4 separate regions of the Homo sapiens genome follow, and regions 2, 3 and 4 are each linked to region 1. The links are contacts of gene promoters, found by promoter capture Hi-C in human tissues and cell types (Jung and others, 2019). All regions are on one chromosome and are shown on one strand. The core of a region is centred on a gene start or on the middle of the fragment in contact, and the rest is flanking DNA. Distances in the headings are between cores, read along the strand shown. Region 1 holds the start of PSMC3 (proteasome 26S subunit, ATPase 3). Region 2 overlaps MTCH2 (mitochondrial carrier 2). Region 3 overlaps DDB2 (damage specific DNA binding protein 2). Region 4 holds the start of NR1H3 (nuclear receptor subfamily 1 group H member 3).

Region 1 (3,636 bases), core at 502-3,001:
GTCATTAGGATCAACATCCAGGAGCTGGGAAGGAAAAAATACTCAGCTCCTTGAACTCCCCAAGGCCCAGTGCTTCCTAAGACAGTTCCTAATACCTGCAGGGCTGGCCATCCTTACCTCCCTCCTCCAATAGCCCTGAGCCCACCAAACGTGGGTGCCCCTGCTAAGCCCAGGGATTGATCTCTGTGTAGGTGCTGCTCCTCTGCACAGGGCTCATCTACCCCGGAGGAGACATAACCAACAGAAAAGGAGACACGTGAGACCTCCCAGGACTTTGCAGGCCCCGTCTTCCCCATGAAAGTGCCCCAGGAGGTGTAGCTCTGACATGCAGTTTGGCCTCAATACCTCCACCCACTCTTTCCCTAGTGGCCCCACCCCAGGCTGTCCCCATTCCCTGCTGACTCCCTCTCTTCCCCTCCACATACACACACACCTCGATGACGTTGGAGACAAGGTACGGCAGGGTCTTGTTCACTTTGATTTTCTCACTGTTCTCTTTTATCTTGTCCTTCATGGCTTGGAGCTCATGGGTGACTCTCAACACTTCACTCTTCATGATCTGAGATCAGGAGGGGAGGAGAAGCAAATATAAACCCTGGCACAGCTTATGCTAGAGCCCTGTAACTAGTGAGGTCCAGGGTGCCCAGGGGACCCTCCCGCATCCATTCATCCAGCTCTGAGGCTCTCTGAAGGCAGAGTCTGACTGTGTCCACATCCTGCAGAAGTCAAAAGAGGAGGCCAGTTTGGAAACCTCCTGGTGAAATAGTGGTAGTATTGGAATAAAAGCAGGCCTCCGAGAGAGGCAAACATAGGTTTTAGGTTCTGCCTCATAGTAAGAACTGGGTGCTTTATCGCAGTACAAACCTCTCTGGGCCTGTCTCCTCATCTGTAAAATAGGCATTTTACTAAAAGAAGGATTCTTGAGAGGATTATTCCCAGTTCTCACTGGGAAAGGCAATCTGATAACTTCTCATCTCAGCCCAGGCCTCCCACCACCCCCTACCTGTCTTCTTGTCCCTTTTAAGGCTTAGTTTTCTTTCCTCTCTTCCTGATATGAGGGGGAAGCCCGAGCCCCATGTCTCCCCCAGGGTGCCCGATTAGGAAGTACGAGAGGCGACTCGGATCGCCGGGGCCTGTCCTGTGGGGGCTCCATCGCCCGCACAGGAGCTGTGCGCCCACCTTGATCTCACTGTCCAGCAGCCGTGTGCGCTGGATGATCTCCTCCGTGGACATCTTGAGCACCTCCTCCCCAATTCCATCTTGCTGTAAAAAATTATTTGTTTATTTATATATTTACTTTTACTCAGGACAAGCATCCCTCGTTCTCCGAACCCACTCACAGCCTCAGTTTCCACGCCCATAAAACCAGGATGGAGTCAGGACCCCTGCCCACATCCCAAACAACCCCGTCCCCGGGATCGGGCCAGACCTTGACCCCCAGCCACCTCCTTCCCTCTTGTCAATGGCGTCTCCCTGCGGGCCCCGGTTCCCGGACCGCCAGCTCGCCCGGTGCCCACCTCGGCCTCATCCCACACGGTCGCCATCTTCTCCTGCCGAGTCACTGGACTCTCAATATTCGGCAGCAGATTCATTTCCTGGAGGAGCGGGCAGAAGATGGGACCAGGCGGGAGCCGCAACGGGAGATTAATACCGTCTTTCTTAAAGCCTTCTCTTGACCAGTGGAAAACCTCTCCCCACAAATCCCGACTCTTGACCCGACCAGCTCCGGCCGTGCTGCGGAGCAGCGAATCTGCCTCTCCGATTCCAAAGACCAACCCCTGGCCACAGGCCCCGCCCCCGCGGACCCCGAAACGTTCCCGCCCGCGTCCTATTTTTGCCGGGCGCGAGAGGTGGGGCCGCTATTGGCCGACACGCGCGTTGGGGGCGGGGCCTATGTGTAAAACCGGAAAGGGAGGGAGAAGGGTGGGATCCGCGAGGGCCTTTGGGAAATGTAGTCTTTAATCTGGCCCGTGACAGATGCTTGCGGAGGGGCGCGTTCAAACTCAGACCGTGACCCCGCTAGGAATAAGGGGATTTACACAATGACACTGCCTCCCAATTAATAAACGACATAGGCCAGCCGTGTGCAAAGGGCCAAAAAGGCATGCCACCTCAGTCCGCATTTTTACAATTATTTAAGTACAAGCTGGCCACCCGGAGTTACGGGAGGGAATCATTAACCAGCTTTAAAGAGAAATCGCTGCTGCTCCTAACGTCAGAGCAGGCTTCACGGAATTGTCCACGTGGGAAGAACTCAATTGACCATCAGCCTCTACGATTAAAAACATTATGACTCGGGCCGGGCGCGGTGGCTCACGCCTGTAATCCCAGCACTTTGGGAGGCCGAGGCGGGCGGATCACGAGGTCAGGAGATCGAGACCATCCTGGCTAACACGGTGAAACCCCGTCTCTACTAAATATACAAAAAATTAGCCGGGCGTGGTGGTGGGCGCCCGTAGTCCCAGCTACTCCGGGCTGAGCCAGGAGAATGGCATGAACCTCGGAGGCGGAGCTTGCAGTGAGCCGTGATCGCGCCACTGCACTCCAGCCTGGGCGACAGAGCGAGACTCCGTCTCAAAAAAAATTATGTCTCGTATCTGCAATTGTTTGTTTTCTCTGACCATGGTTAGTAATCTCAGTGAGCAGAGCGGGTCTCCGGATCATGGGAGACTCATTCGTTGTACCCTTGTCGGCTATTTTAAATGATCTCTCCTTATCCTTTGAGGTGAGCCCTGGAGCCCCTTTAAAGGGAACTTCATGTAAGCAACATAGCTTATATTTCAAGTCAAACCATCACAAACACTCTGTTAACCTGATGAAAATCTGTGCAATCGTTGCCTTTTTTTTGTTTGCTTGTTTGTTTTTTGTTTTTTGAGACGGAGTCTCGCTCTGTCGCCCAGGCTGGAATGCAGTGGCGCGGTCTCTCCCTACCGCAACCTCCGCCTCCCGGGTTCAATGGATTCTCCTGCCTCAGCCTCTCAAGTAGCTGGGATTACAGGCACCCACCACCACGCCCAACTAATTTTTGTATTTTTAGTAGAGACAAGGTTTCACCATGTTGACCAGGCTGGTCTCAAACTCCTGGGCGTAAGTGATCTTCCTGCCTCAGCCTCCTAAAGTGTTGGTACTATAGGCATGAACCACTACACCTAGCCTTTGCAGTAGTTTTTTTTGGAACACGGTTGAAAGCAGAATTTTTTTCTTTAAATAACAACATGTACAGCTGCTCACTCAGGCTGACAAAGCGTCTCCTCAAGTAACAGTGCTTTATTCCATTCTCTCAACAAGCCTGCCTTGTGGACAGACTGAATTACCATTCTCAAATTTAAATAAGCATAGGGAGGCTCAGAGAGGTTAAGTGCCTTGCTGGAGGTTATTCAGTGAGTCACTGGCAGCACTAGGACTGCTGACCCCAAATTCTCACTTTGAGTTGCCCGATAGGAGCCAAGAAGCCCAGAGGGGAAAGACTGTCCAATCTGTGCTGGTCCCACTATGCCTGGGTCAGTTGGGTCCCATTCTGGGGCCTACTTTTGGAGATCCTGACAAATACGAATATGTTTAGAAAGCCTCCAGCCTGGGCCTAGGAGGGATGCAGACATTCTCCCCTTAACCAACTTTTAGGTAGGCTCTTCTGAG
Region 2 (3,636 bases), core at 626-3,125, 190 kb after region 1:
CCACTAGCTTTTCTATAAAGCCCAGTGAGGCTTTTTTTTTTTTTTTTTTTTTTTTTTTTTTGGCTCTCAGTTGACACCTAGGCTGGAGTGCAGTGGTGCGACCATAGGTCAGTACAGCCTCAACCTCCCAGGACTCAACCAGTCGTCCCACTTCAGCCTCCTGTGTAGCTGGCACTACAGGTGCACACCACCAAGCCTGGCTAATTTTTAAATTTTTGTGTTGAGAAAAGGTCTCACTATATTATCCAAGCAGGCTGTTTTAGTTGGCCTGTTTTAAAGGACTAAATATATATTTTTCCCCCACAGATTTTCAAATCAGAGAGAAGTAATGCTCCTGCTGTATAAAACATGAACTTGGTGTTGGATGTAGTTTTTGTCAGTTAGTTTGTACTATCATTACATGCTCTGAAGGAGGGAGAGTTTGAAGGCACAGCCCTCTCACCCAGTTGGGACTCTCAGTGACTTCACAAAGAGATGGCACTAGAACTGAATCTGACAGTACAGAAACATGTCACTGGCAAGAGGGGGAGGACATTTCTAGAATAGGAAATTATAGTTAAGTCAAGGTATGCTGAGGTAACAGAGATGATGGAATATAGGGCTTATGTTGAATGTTTCTTTCATCCTAAGGTTGCTTTTTTTTTTTTTTGAGACAGAGTTTCACTCTTGTTGACCAGGCGGGAGTGCAGTGGGGCAATCTCAGCTCACTGCAACCTCCACCTTCCGATTTCAAGCGATTCTCCTGCCTCAGCCTCCTGAGTAGCTGGGATTACAGGTGCCCGCCACCACGCCTAATTTTTGTATTAGTAGAGACAGGGTTTCACCATGTTGGTCAGGCTGGTCTCAAATTCCTGACCTCATGATCCACCCGCCTCGGCCTCCCAAATTGCTGGGATTACTAAGGTTGCTTTTTTACCCTAGTATTTTTATAATGATCCCCCAAAGTTCCAGGAAACCCATACCTTCTTTATTTTTAAGATGCAGTTTCACTCTTGTTGCCTAGGCTGGAGTGCAATGGCACGATCTCAGCTTACCGCAACCTCCGCTTCCTGGGTTCAAGCGATTCTCATGCCTCAGCCTCCCAAGTAGCTGGGATTACAGGCATGTGCCACCACGCCCAGCTAATTTTCCTCCCTTTATTTCTTTAAAAAATAGAGACAGGGTTTTACCATGTTGCCCGGGCTGGTCTTGAGCTCCTGGACTCAAGTGATCCACTGCCCCCAGCCCACCCCACACTCTTCTTAAGTCAAGGTTTCAATGGTCACCACATACTCTAGAGGAACAGTTTGTGGCAACTTAGCTTGGTACCACAAAGGAAAACCAGTTTCACAAGTGGCTTACTAGAGAACCCCTACTTTTCTTTTTCTTTTTTTTAAGAGACAGAGTCTCACTCTGTCACCCAGTGGCACAATCTTGGGTCACTGCAACCTCCAGCTCCCAGGTTCAAGCGATTCTCCTGCCTCAGCCTCCTGAACTACAGGTGCGTGCCACCATGCCCGACTAATTTTTTTGTATTTTTAGTAGATATATTGGCCAGGCTGGTCTCCAACTCTTGGCCTCAAGTGATCCACCTGCCTCAGCCTCCCAAAGTGTTAGGATTACAGGTATGGGCCACCACAACCAGCCTAAGTTCATATTACTTACTGAGTTCATTATTTCTTGCATGTGTTTCTTTTTTTTTCTTTTTTTTTTTTTTAAGAGATGGGAGTTTCACTCTTGTTGCCCAGGCTGGAGTGCAATGGCGTGATCTCAGTTCATTGCAACCTCCACCTCCTGGGTTTCAAGAGATTCTCCTGCCTCAGCCTCCCGCATAGCTGGGATTACAGGCATGTGCCACCATGCCCGGCTAATTTTGTTATTTTTAGTAGAGACAGGGTTTCTTCATGTTGGTCAGGATGGTCTCGAATTCTCGACCTCAGGTGAACCACCTGCCTCGGCCTCCCAAAGTGCTGTGATTGCAGGCATGAGCCATTGCGCCCGGTCGCATGTGTTTCTTAATGGCACCTACCTGCATTTCCTAGCCCCTGAATATCTTTAGACTTTTATGTTAGTAGCTTATAGTAAGATATTATGGAGGATCATAGGTATAGGACTCTGACTAGACCTCTAGCTTGGATGCAGCAAGACTGAAACAGCTGGACTAGTATTTTGAGCAATCCTAGGCCTTGGAGAAATTTCTCAGCCACCCAACTTGCACAGGAAAAACTGAAGCCTTGGCGTCCTCTGGTGGTAGACTGGTTATCAGAGTCAGACATGCTTCTCAACTAGGAATAGGCAAGCATGAAAGTTCACAGAAGCCACAGGATAAACATGGCACATTTTCCCAGATCATCTTTACTTAAAGATTTTTTGGGAGAAAAAGGTAGGCAGCAAACATTTTTATATTAAAACAAATGCAGATAGTAATATTGAAATAGTATATAAAATTGACATTACTTTTTGAGACAAAGGAAGAGACATCAAAGACATTTTAAGCCGAGCTCCTCATGAGCTTCCTAAACCCCAGGGGAGGGAAGAGACCCCTGCATTCTCGTTCTGTCTAATATTATCAGTGGGGCTGTTTTGACAGAGAAGTCTCAGAAGCAGCGAATTAAGTGCTTACTCATTTGGCAATGTCCCAGTGAGTTATATAAATAAGTGAAACCACAGGCTTTCTCATTTTAGAGCATTTTAACCTGCTTTTTAGAAGGCCTGAGTAAACAGAAGCTTTATGCTTGAGTTGAATTTTATTTTCTCCCAAAGTGATTTTTTTCCTCCTATAAATGTTAACATGCTTAACTGAGGGTATGGCATGTGAGGTGGTCAGTGTCCTAAGACCCATGTCGACTTGGGTTGGCATTACCAGACATGGAGTTACAAATATACTTTCCAAGGCTGTCATCAGAAATGCAAAACTACTCACCTTCGGCAACAATAACAAAAAGGAAACAAAACAAAAAACTGAAGAACAAAAGATTATATATAATTAGAACTGTATGGTGTAATTTAAGCACTGGCAAATACTTGGCTCTTAAAGAAGGGGGTTACTCCTGCAGGATCTGCTTTTCATATTTTATGTGAAAACAAGAACTTCCTTTGAGGAAAAAAGTGCCATTATACTTCCTTTCCAAATCTTGCTTATTTTCTGTAATTGTCTTTTTCTTTGTTGTTGCTGACCCTTTATCTTATTTATTTTTTTTCAGGTAGCCTCTTGAACTAGAGTAGGCTCAGAGGCTCCCTGTAGGTGACATTTTATTACTTTGCAATAACAGACTGAAGGGGCAGATCCTCACACAGACTTTCTAGGGTAATGTAGCAATGTACTGTCCTTTTCTTGAAGTATGAGAGACAAGGTCAATGAAATGTGCTTAGAAGCATAATGGGAGTCAGATTCTGGTGCATGCTACTGACATTTTAGGGTCTACCCAAGAAAAAGTAATTCATAACCTCCCATATAGTTTAATTTAGTGATTTTGTTAAGTTTTACAAAATTATTTCTCATTTTTCTTGGAATTCTACTCTTCATTTTACAAAGCCTTAAATTGAGACTCAAAAATCACATGACAAAGTGCCTGTAGCTTCAGGAAAATACAACTTTTTTTCCCTTCTGGTTAAGTAAAATAAGAATTTGGAGCAAAAATATCCTAATTCAGAATA
Region 3 (3,636 bases), core at 829-3,328, 190 kb before region 1:
TGTGCCCAGGCCTGGTTCCTCACGGCCAGGCCCATCATCACTCACTGGCTTTTTCCTTCCTCGTGTTAGATTGGAGCTGGAGGGAGCATCACTGGGCTGAAGTTTAACCCTCTCAATACCAACCAGTTTTACGCCTCCTCAATGGAGGGAACAACTAGGCTGCAAGACTTTAAAGGCAACATTCTACGAGTTTTTGCCAGCTCAGACACCATCAAGTGAGTAGTTTAACTAGCAGGGGAAAGGGCTTCTAAGCTTAGGTGTAGTTCCGGCAAGAGCATCCAGATCCCATTTCCTTAACCCAACCTGGCCCAGGGAAGAAAGGAAAGATGTCAGCCACTTTCCGCCCTTCTTTCTCTTTCTCAAACTGCTCCTTGGCTGCCCTCACTTTGGTCCAGGTGGGTTACTGCTTTGGGAAGGTGTTCTGGAGCCTCAGCTCTTCTGTAAGTCATACCTGTATTAGACTGGACCTTGACCCTCACTAGATAAGCCAGCATGGCGTGGACCCAGAAAGCCACCTAGAGAATGGAGCAACAGCTCAGAACTTGAGACTGAATGCCCTGCACTCACTGTGGTGTAATGACCTGACCTGTTCCTGGGTGGAAGCTTATATGGATGGAATCTTTTCCATAAAGTGCTCTGGACTTCCCAAGAGAAAGTGGCTGGAGAAATTACAGAATGCGGCCGGGTGCAGTGGCTCATGCTTGAAATCCCAGCACTTTGGGAGGCCAAGGTGGGTGGATCACCTGAGGTCAGGAGTTCGAGACCAGCCTGGCCAACATGGTGAAACCCCCATCTCTACTAACAATACAAAAAATTAGCTGGGCGTGGTGGTAGGCCCCTGTAATTCCCAGCTACTTGGGAGGCTGAAGCAAGAGAATCGCTTGAACCCAGGAGGCAGAGGTTGCAGTGAGCCGAGATGGCGCCATTGCACTCCATCCTGGGCAACAAGAGCGAAAATCTATCTCAAAAAAAAAAAAAAAAAATTACAGAATACTCGTCACTTTGATTTCCAGCTAGAGCCGTGACTCTGACTGCTCCCTGAGGAATTAAGTGAGGGTGCTGGGGTGTAACTAGCATTGGATTGGATCCTGGGCTGTCCCGCAGGGATGAGGAGTGCATGCGCACGCAAATCAGCAGGCAATTGGATAGACAAGGCTCCAGGCTACTCTTCCGCAAGAAATCTTCCTGCTTGAAGATATTCATAGGGGATGGCAAAAGGCAGTGTAGCATGGATTTGAGAGTTTGAGAGAAAAACTGTGAGCTGAGCTCTTCTGGCTGAATAGCAGGATCCCTGAAGCACCCTCCTAGTCAGCCTCCCAGTCCAGTGGTTTGAGGGACCAGAAGAGCTCCTGGTTGTGTTTTTTCCCCCAGTGTTCAGAAGGGGGCAGAAGTGCTTTTCTAGCCAGCTCTGAGGAACAGGGCCAGGCAATCCCTCTTTGGCTTGTGTCTCCTTTGGCCTAAAGGGTGAAGAGTGAAAGGAGAGAGCAGTAAAGGAGGCTTGCTCAGAACCCGGGGTGTGGGGGGCAGGCGTGCCTCAGGGCTTGCTTTATGGTATAAGCTTTGTCTGCTTCAGGGACTTTTAGGAGCTGGGGATCCTGGGCCCAGCCATAACCAGACAGATTTCTGAGCCCCATTATCCCATCCCCTCTGTCTGGACGGTAGAGCAGTCTGAATGTTCCTCACTAGGAATCCACGGCAAGACAGTTATTCATTCATTCAACAAATATTTATTGAATGCCCGCTGTGGGTTAGTCACCGGAGCGGCAACAGTGAGTAAATAGGACTATCTCTGTCCCCAAGAATCTTACAACACAGTCTCTCCCTCCAGCATCTGGTTTTGTAGCCTGGATGTGTCTGCTAGTAGCCGAATGGTGGTCACAGGAGACAACGTGGGGAACGTGATCCTGCTGAACATGGACGGCAAAGAGGTGCGTTCTCCGAGGTCCTGCCTTTCCCTCCCTCACCCCCACCTCGGTTCTGTGTCCCCACCTGAACCGAGCTCTTCTCTGCAGCTTTGGAATCTCAGAATGCACAAAAAGAAAGTGACGCATGTGGCCCTGAACCCATGCTGTGATTGGTTCCTGGCCACAGCCTCCGTAGATCAAACAGTGAAAATTTGGGACCTGCGCCAGGTTAGAGGGAAAGCCAGCTTCCTCTACTCGCTGCCGCACAGGCATCCTGTCAACGCAGGTGTGATATCCCAGACCTCATCTCTCCTGCAGACCCTGCCTGTCTGACCACTGCTGGGGTTTTCCCTCAGTGTGGAAGCCACTACGTCAAACCTTTACCCCTGATAGCGTCTGCCAAGCTGATGTCTGGGAACCTTTGTGGCTGTGGCTGTCCCCATCAGCTGCTGAGTTTCCAGAATTTTTTTGTTGTTGTTCACAGCCCAGATTCACCTCTTCCTTTCCGCTCCTGTCTAGAGAGGAGTGGGAGGGAGAGTACCCCTGCAGGAGAAGGCCTGCAAGGCCAGGACCACAGAGGGCTTGTGGTTCCTTCAGCTCAGGGGCTTTTCACTTTGCCAGCTTGTTTCAGTCCCGATGGAGCCCGGCTCCTGACCACGGACCAGAAGAGCGAGATCCGAGTTTACTCTGCTTCCCAGTGGGACTGCCCCCTGGGCCTGATCCCGCACCCTCACCGTCACTTCCAGCACCTCACACCCATCAAGGTGAGTGGCGGTGGGAAGGAGCTCGCAGAAGGAGGCTGTGATCATGAGGCCGGAGCAGGTCTGCCCACAGTGGGGAAGGGCTGATGTGGTAAGCCTGCCACCCCAGATCGCTCCTGGCCCGAGCACAGAGCATCTCTTACCCATTGGCTCTCTCTCTTCCTTTTATCCCACTTCTGCCATCCCATATGGTTGAGTTTTCTGTCTCGCTGATAAGATATTTTTCTGAGTTTTTTCAGCCCAGCTCTGATCTCACTGTGAGAATTTTCTAAGATCCTGACCCTCTGTTCTGTCTTCTCAGCTTCAGTTACCTGTGTACAGTTGACCCACAAACCTTCATTTTTTATTTTTTTATTATTTTTTTTAAGGCAGGGTCTCGCTCTGTCACCCAGGTGGGAGTACAGTGGGGCAAGCATGGTTCATTACAGCCTTGATCTCCCAGGCTCAAGCGATCCTCCTGCCTCACTTTTTTTTTTTTTGTAGAGACAGGGTATTCTTGTGTTACCCAGGCTGATCCTTTTTTTTTTTTTTTTTTTTTTTCTTGAAACGGTCTTGCTCTGTCACCCAGGCTGGAGTGCAGTGGCACAAACATAGCTCACTGCAGCCTCAACCTCCTGGGTTCAAGCAATCCTTCCGCCTTAGCCTCGGAAGTAGATTGGACTACAGGTATGCGCCACCATACCCAGCTAATTTTTTTATTTTTTATAGAGATGGGGTTTTGCCATGTTGCCCAAGCTGGTCTTGAACTCCTAGGTTGAAGCCATCCCCCAACCTTGGCCTCCCAAAGTGCTAGGATTACAGGCATGAGCCACTGCGCCTGGCAACTTTGCCTTCTTAGTTTGTCTTGCAGGTTTCAGTGCTTCTAATAATAAAAATAAGTCTTTTATTTTCCCACCTTTTCTCAGGCTCTTGTTAATAGCTTCTCTATCATTAGTCCCCAACACTAATAGCTTTCAAGTCCTTTGATGCCT
Region 4 (3,636 bases), core at 743-3,242, 170 kb before region 1:
TCTCCCCTGTAGCCCACCAGCCCTGGCTGCTTCCATTACAGCACTTCACTGGCCCAAGACGCAACAAGACAAGATTGTCCTGGACTCTGACACAGCAAAGGGACTGGAGTGAGGACATCTGGGTTCTGATCCCAGCCCAGCCACTAACTGTGTGGTCTTGGAAAAGGCCCTCACATGAGTTTCAGTGTTCTCTGTCAAATGGAGCTCGGGTTACTTACCCTCCTTTCCTCCCAGCGCTGCTCTAAGGACCAGAAAAGATAGTGAAGGGTTTGTGCTGTGTATGGAAACAAGTACAAAGTTCAAAATCCACCAAGTTAAAGCAATGGGAAGACCTACAGCTGAAAGAACTGGGAGGGTGATGATAACTCGTGCCATTTCTCAAACACTATGTGCCACACGTTGTGATAGACTCTCTTTCTTTCTTTCTTTTTCTTTCTTTCTTTCTTTCTTTCTTTCTTTCTTTCTTTCTTTCTTTCTTTCTTTCTCTCTCTCTCTCTCTCTCTCTTTCTTTCTTTCTTTCTTTCTTTCTTTCTTTCTCTTTCTCTCTCTCTCTCTCTTTCTTTCTTCTTTTTTTTTGGAGTTTTGCTGTTGTTGCCCGGGCTGGAGGGCAATGGCGCGATCTCGGGTCATTGCAACTTCTGCCTGCCAGGTTCAAGTGATTCTCCTGCCTCAGCCTCCTGAGTAGCTGGGATTACAGGAATGCATCATCACACCCGGCTAATTTTTTGTATTTTTAGTAGTGATGGGGTTTCACCATGTTGGCCAGGCTGGTCTGGAACTCCTGACCTCAAGTGATCCATCTGCCTTGGCCTCCCAAACTGCTGGGATTACAGGCATGAGCCACCGCACCCTGCATGATCTGTAGTTTCAATCCCACAACAACCTTGTGTGGTAAAAATTACTATTATCCCTATTTTATTTATCTTTCTTTCTTTTTCTTTTTTTTATTTTGAGATGGAGTCTCAGTCTGTCACCCAGGCTGGAGTGTGGTGGCACAATCTCGGCTCACTGCAACCTCCCAGATTCAAGTGATTCTCCTCCCTCAGCCTCCCGAGTAGCTGGGATTACAGACCCGCATCACTATGCCTGGCTAACTTTTGTATTTTTAGTAGAGACGGGGTTTCACCATGTTGGCCAGGCTGGTCTCGAACTCCTGACCTCAAGTGATCCACCCGCCTAGGCCTCCCAAAGTGCTGGGATTACAGGCGTGAGCCACCGTGCCCGTTCTATTTATTTTTCAACACACCATTGCTGGCTCAACTATTCTTATTTTAAAGATAGGGAAACAAAGATTCAGAGACGTTAAGTAACTTGCTCAATCAAGATCACATAGGTAATAAGAGGTTTAGGATTTGAACCCAAAATCTGAGCCCAGAGTCTGAACGCTAAATCAACATGCTGAGTTGAAATTGACTACAGCAGTTGTGATGGCGTGTGCCTGTAATCCTAGCACTTTGGAAGGCTGAGGTGGGAGGATGGCTTGAGCCCAGGAGTGTGAAGCCAGCCTGGGCAACATAGTGAGACCCTACCCCAAAAAAGGTAAAAAAAAAAAAAAAAAGGAATAATAAAAAAAATTGACTAGGGCTAATAAGTACGGGATAGACGAGAATAATATTTCTTTTTTTTTTTTTTTTGGGGACAGAGTCTCGCTCTGTCACTCAGGCAGGAGTGCAGTGGCGCAATCTCGGCTCACTGCAAGCTCTGCCTCCCGGGTTCACGCCATTCTTCTGTCTCAGCCTCCCGAGTAGCTGGAACTACAGGCGCCTGCCACCATGCCCGGCTAATTTTTTGTATTTTTAGGAGAGACGGGGTTTCACCGTGTTAGCCAGGATGGTCTCGATCTCCTGACCTCGTGATCCGCCTGCCTCGGCCTCCCAAAGTGCTGGGATTACAGGCGTGAGCCACCGCGCCCGGCCGAGAATATATTATATTTTTCTTGTTATTCATTCAACAAATAGGAACACAGTACCTACTCTGTTGCCACATCTATGCCAGCCCTGTTTCAGGGGTGTTGGGGGAGATGAAATCAATAAAATATGATGTCTACTTTCAGGGATGGATTTCATGCCCCAGGCAGCAGAGTAGGAAGAATGACTATAGTCTCAGTAGCTGCTGGTTGGAGCCTGCCATCACTTCAGATGGGGTTGTTCCCCAGAAGAGGCAACCCGCATACCTTCCCAGGTCCATCCTGGGCTGCCACCTGAGTTGCCTGTCTTCCTTCTGCCACCTCCACCCCTATCCCAGGCCTGCCACTGCTCATAGCAGATTTCCTATCAAAGGCTCTCCTGGCCTCCTCTCTTATCTGTGGCCCCCGCAGGGCACCCACTTTCAGAAACTCCCTGGAAGGCCCAGCACCTGCCTCTCTCCACCCCTGGATTTCTACCAGCTTGGCTGAGGCCTGGGGCTAGTGGGGAGAGCTTCTTGGCCTCTTCCCAGAGGCAAGGGAGGAGGAGGGAGGCTGGGAAAGCCGCTGGGGCTCAGTGTCGCAATTCCGGGCCGTGCTGGGACCTTTGCTCCACGAGGTGCCTATGGAGGGGAGGGAACACGATTCTGGAGGCTGCTGGGATTGGGGTGGGGGTTCCTGGGAGGCAGTCCTTTTGCAAGAGCTGCTAAGAGCGCTGGGTAAGGAGAGGAAGGGGAGAGACATGGAACTTGGCTGGTCTGCAGGGAAATGCCACTGTTTTGGCCGGGAGTAGGGGGCGGGAGTGGCGGGAGAGGGGGTGGCCGGCTGGGGAGGAGCCAGCCTGGTGGAGAAGCTGCCCTGTGGGCGGGGGTGAGGAGGGGAGGGCTGTGGTCACCAGGCAGGAAGGAGGGGTGGCCTGACCCCTCGGCAGTCCCTCCCCTCAGCCTTTCCCCAAATTGCTACTTCTCTGGGGCTCCAGGTCCTGCTTGTGCTCAGCTCCAGCTCACTGGCTGGCCACCGAGACTTCTGGACAGGAAACTGCACCATCCTCTTCTCCCAGCAAGGGGGCTCCAGAGACTGCCCACCCAGGAAGTCTGGTGGCCTGGGGATTTGGTGGGTCTGCTCCTTAGCAGTGGCCTGGGGCTCTGTGTGTGTATCTGGGGTGGGGTCGGGGAATGTCCTAAGGATCTGAGAAGGGGGTTTCTGGGGAGAAGTGAGGGGTGATGGTGATGGAAGCTTGGGACAGGAGCAGGACTCTGGGTCCCAGAATAACTCATGAGGGGCTCAGGGGAGGAGGTCCTCTATGTGAATTGGGGAGATTCTTGGAGACAGGTTTGTGCTGGGACCCTGGAAAGTGGCACGAGCGAGGTTCTCTAATAAGCAGCGTGTTTCACTGGGTGGAGTGAGCTGTCCTCAGTGTTGGAGTGAGGGGGAAGGGGCCCAAGAGAAGCAGGGCAGATGCACCCAAACATTCCCTGCTGGCCTGGAGGGGACTTTGGGGGAGAAAAGCCGGCACGGTGGCTGGGAGCCCAGACTTTGGAGTCAGAGGAGGGTTGGAGTCTTGACTCTACCGCCGCCTAACTGTGTGACCATAGTTACTTAATCTCTTTGAACCTCAGTTTGCTTATCTGTAAAATGAGTTTAAGAATAGTCCTGAGCCAGGAGCAGTAGCGTGCGCCCATAATCTCAGATACTCAGGAAGCTGAAACCTGATTGCTTCAGCCCAGTAGTTT

Evidence for each region. Contacts are between HindIII fragments. The study calls those that stand out against the background at their distance.
Region 2: a contact is called between a fragment that was not itself captured here and the fragment with the promoter of PSMC3 in region 1, in 1 of the 25 tissues and cell types used here (lymphoblastoid cells).
Region 3: a contact is called between a fragment that was not itself captured here and the fragment with the promoter of PSMC3 in region 1, in 2 of the 25 tissues and cell types used here (dorsolateral prefrontal cortex and lymphoblastoid cells).
Region 4: a contact is called between a fragment that was not itself captured here and the fragment with the promoter of PSMC3 in region 1, in 1 of the 25 tissues and cell types used here (mesenchymal stem cells).

The regions. Positions count from the first base shown.
Region 1 is chr11:47,424,688-47,428,323 of GRCh38, forward strand. PSMC3 (proteasome 26S subunit, ATPase 3) reads right to left here and starts at 1,752. Exons shown (of 12, transcript NM_002804.5): 1 at 1,518-1,752; 2 at 1,180-1,263; 3 at 434-559; 4 at 1-24. The coding sequence starts at 1,592. RefSeq lists silencers at 1,379-1,590, 1,861-1,990 and an enhancer at 1,561-1,760. The HindIII fragment of the contact is 16,812 bases long and covers 1-3,636 here.
Region 2 is chr11:47,615,001-47,618,636 of GRCh38, forward strand. MTCH2 (mitochondrial carrier 2) reads right to left here. Exons shown (of 13, transcript NM_014342.4): 13 at 2,317-3,636. Among named protein-coding and RNA genes, the nearest start is that of C1QTNF4, 22 kb to the left of the region's middle. RefSeq lists a silencer at 2,553-2,612. The HindIII fragment of the contact is 5,124 bases long and covers 1-3,636 here.
Region 3 is chr11:47,232,745-47,236,380 of GRCh38, forward strand. DDB2 (damage specific DNA binding protein 2) reads left to right here. Exons shown (of 10, transcript NM_000107.3): 4 at 70-215; 5 at 1,829-1,928; 6 at 2,013-2,190; 7 at 2,526-2,668. Among named protein-coding and RNA genes, the nearest start is that of ACP2, 14 kb to the right of the region's middle. The HindIII fragment of the contact is 6,251 bases long and covers 1-3,636 here.
Region 4 is chr11:47,255,114-47,258,749 of GRCh38, forward strand. It overlaps NR1H3 (nuclear receptor subfamily 1 group H member 3), which reads left to right and starts at 2,883. Exons shown (of 10, transcript NM_005693.4): 1 at 2,883-3,016. The HindIII fragment of the contact is 3,305 bases long and covers 341-3,636 here.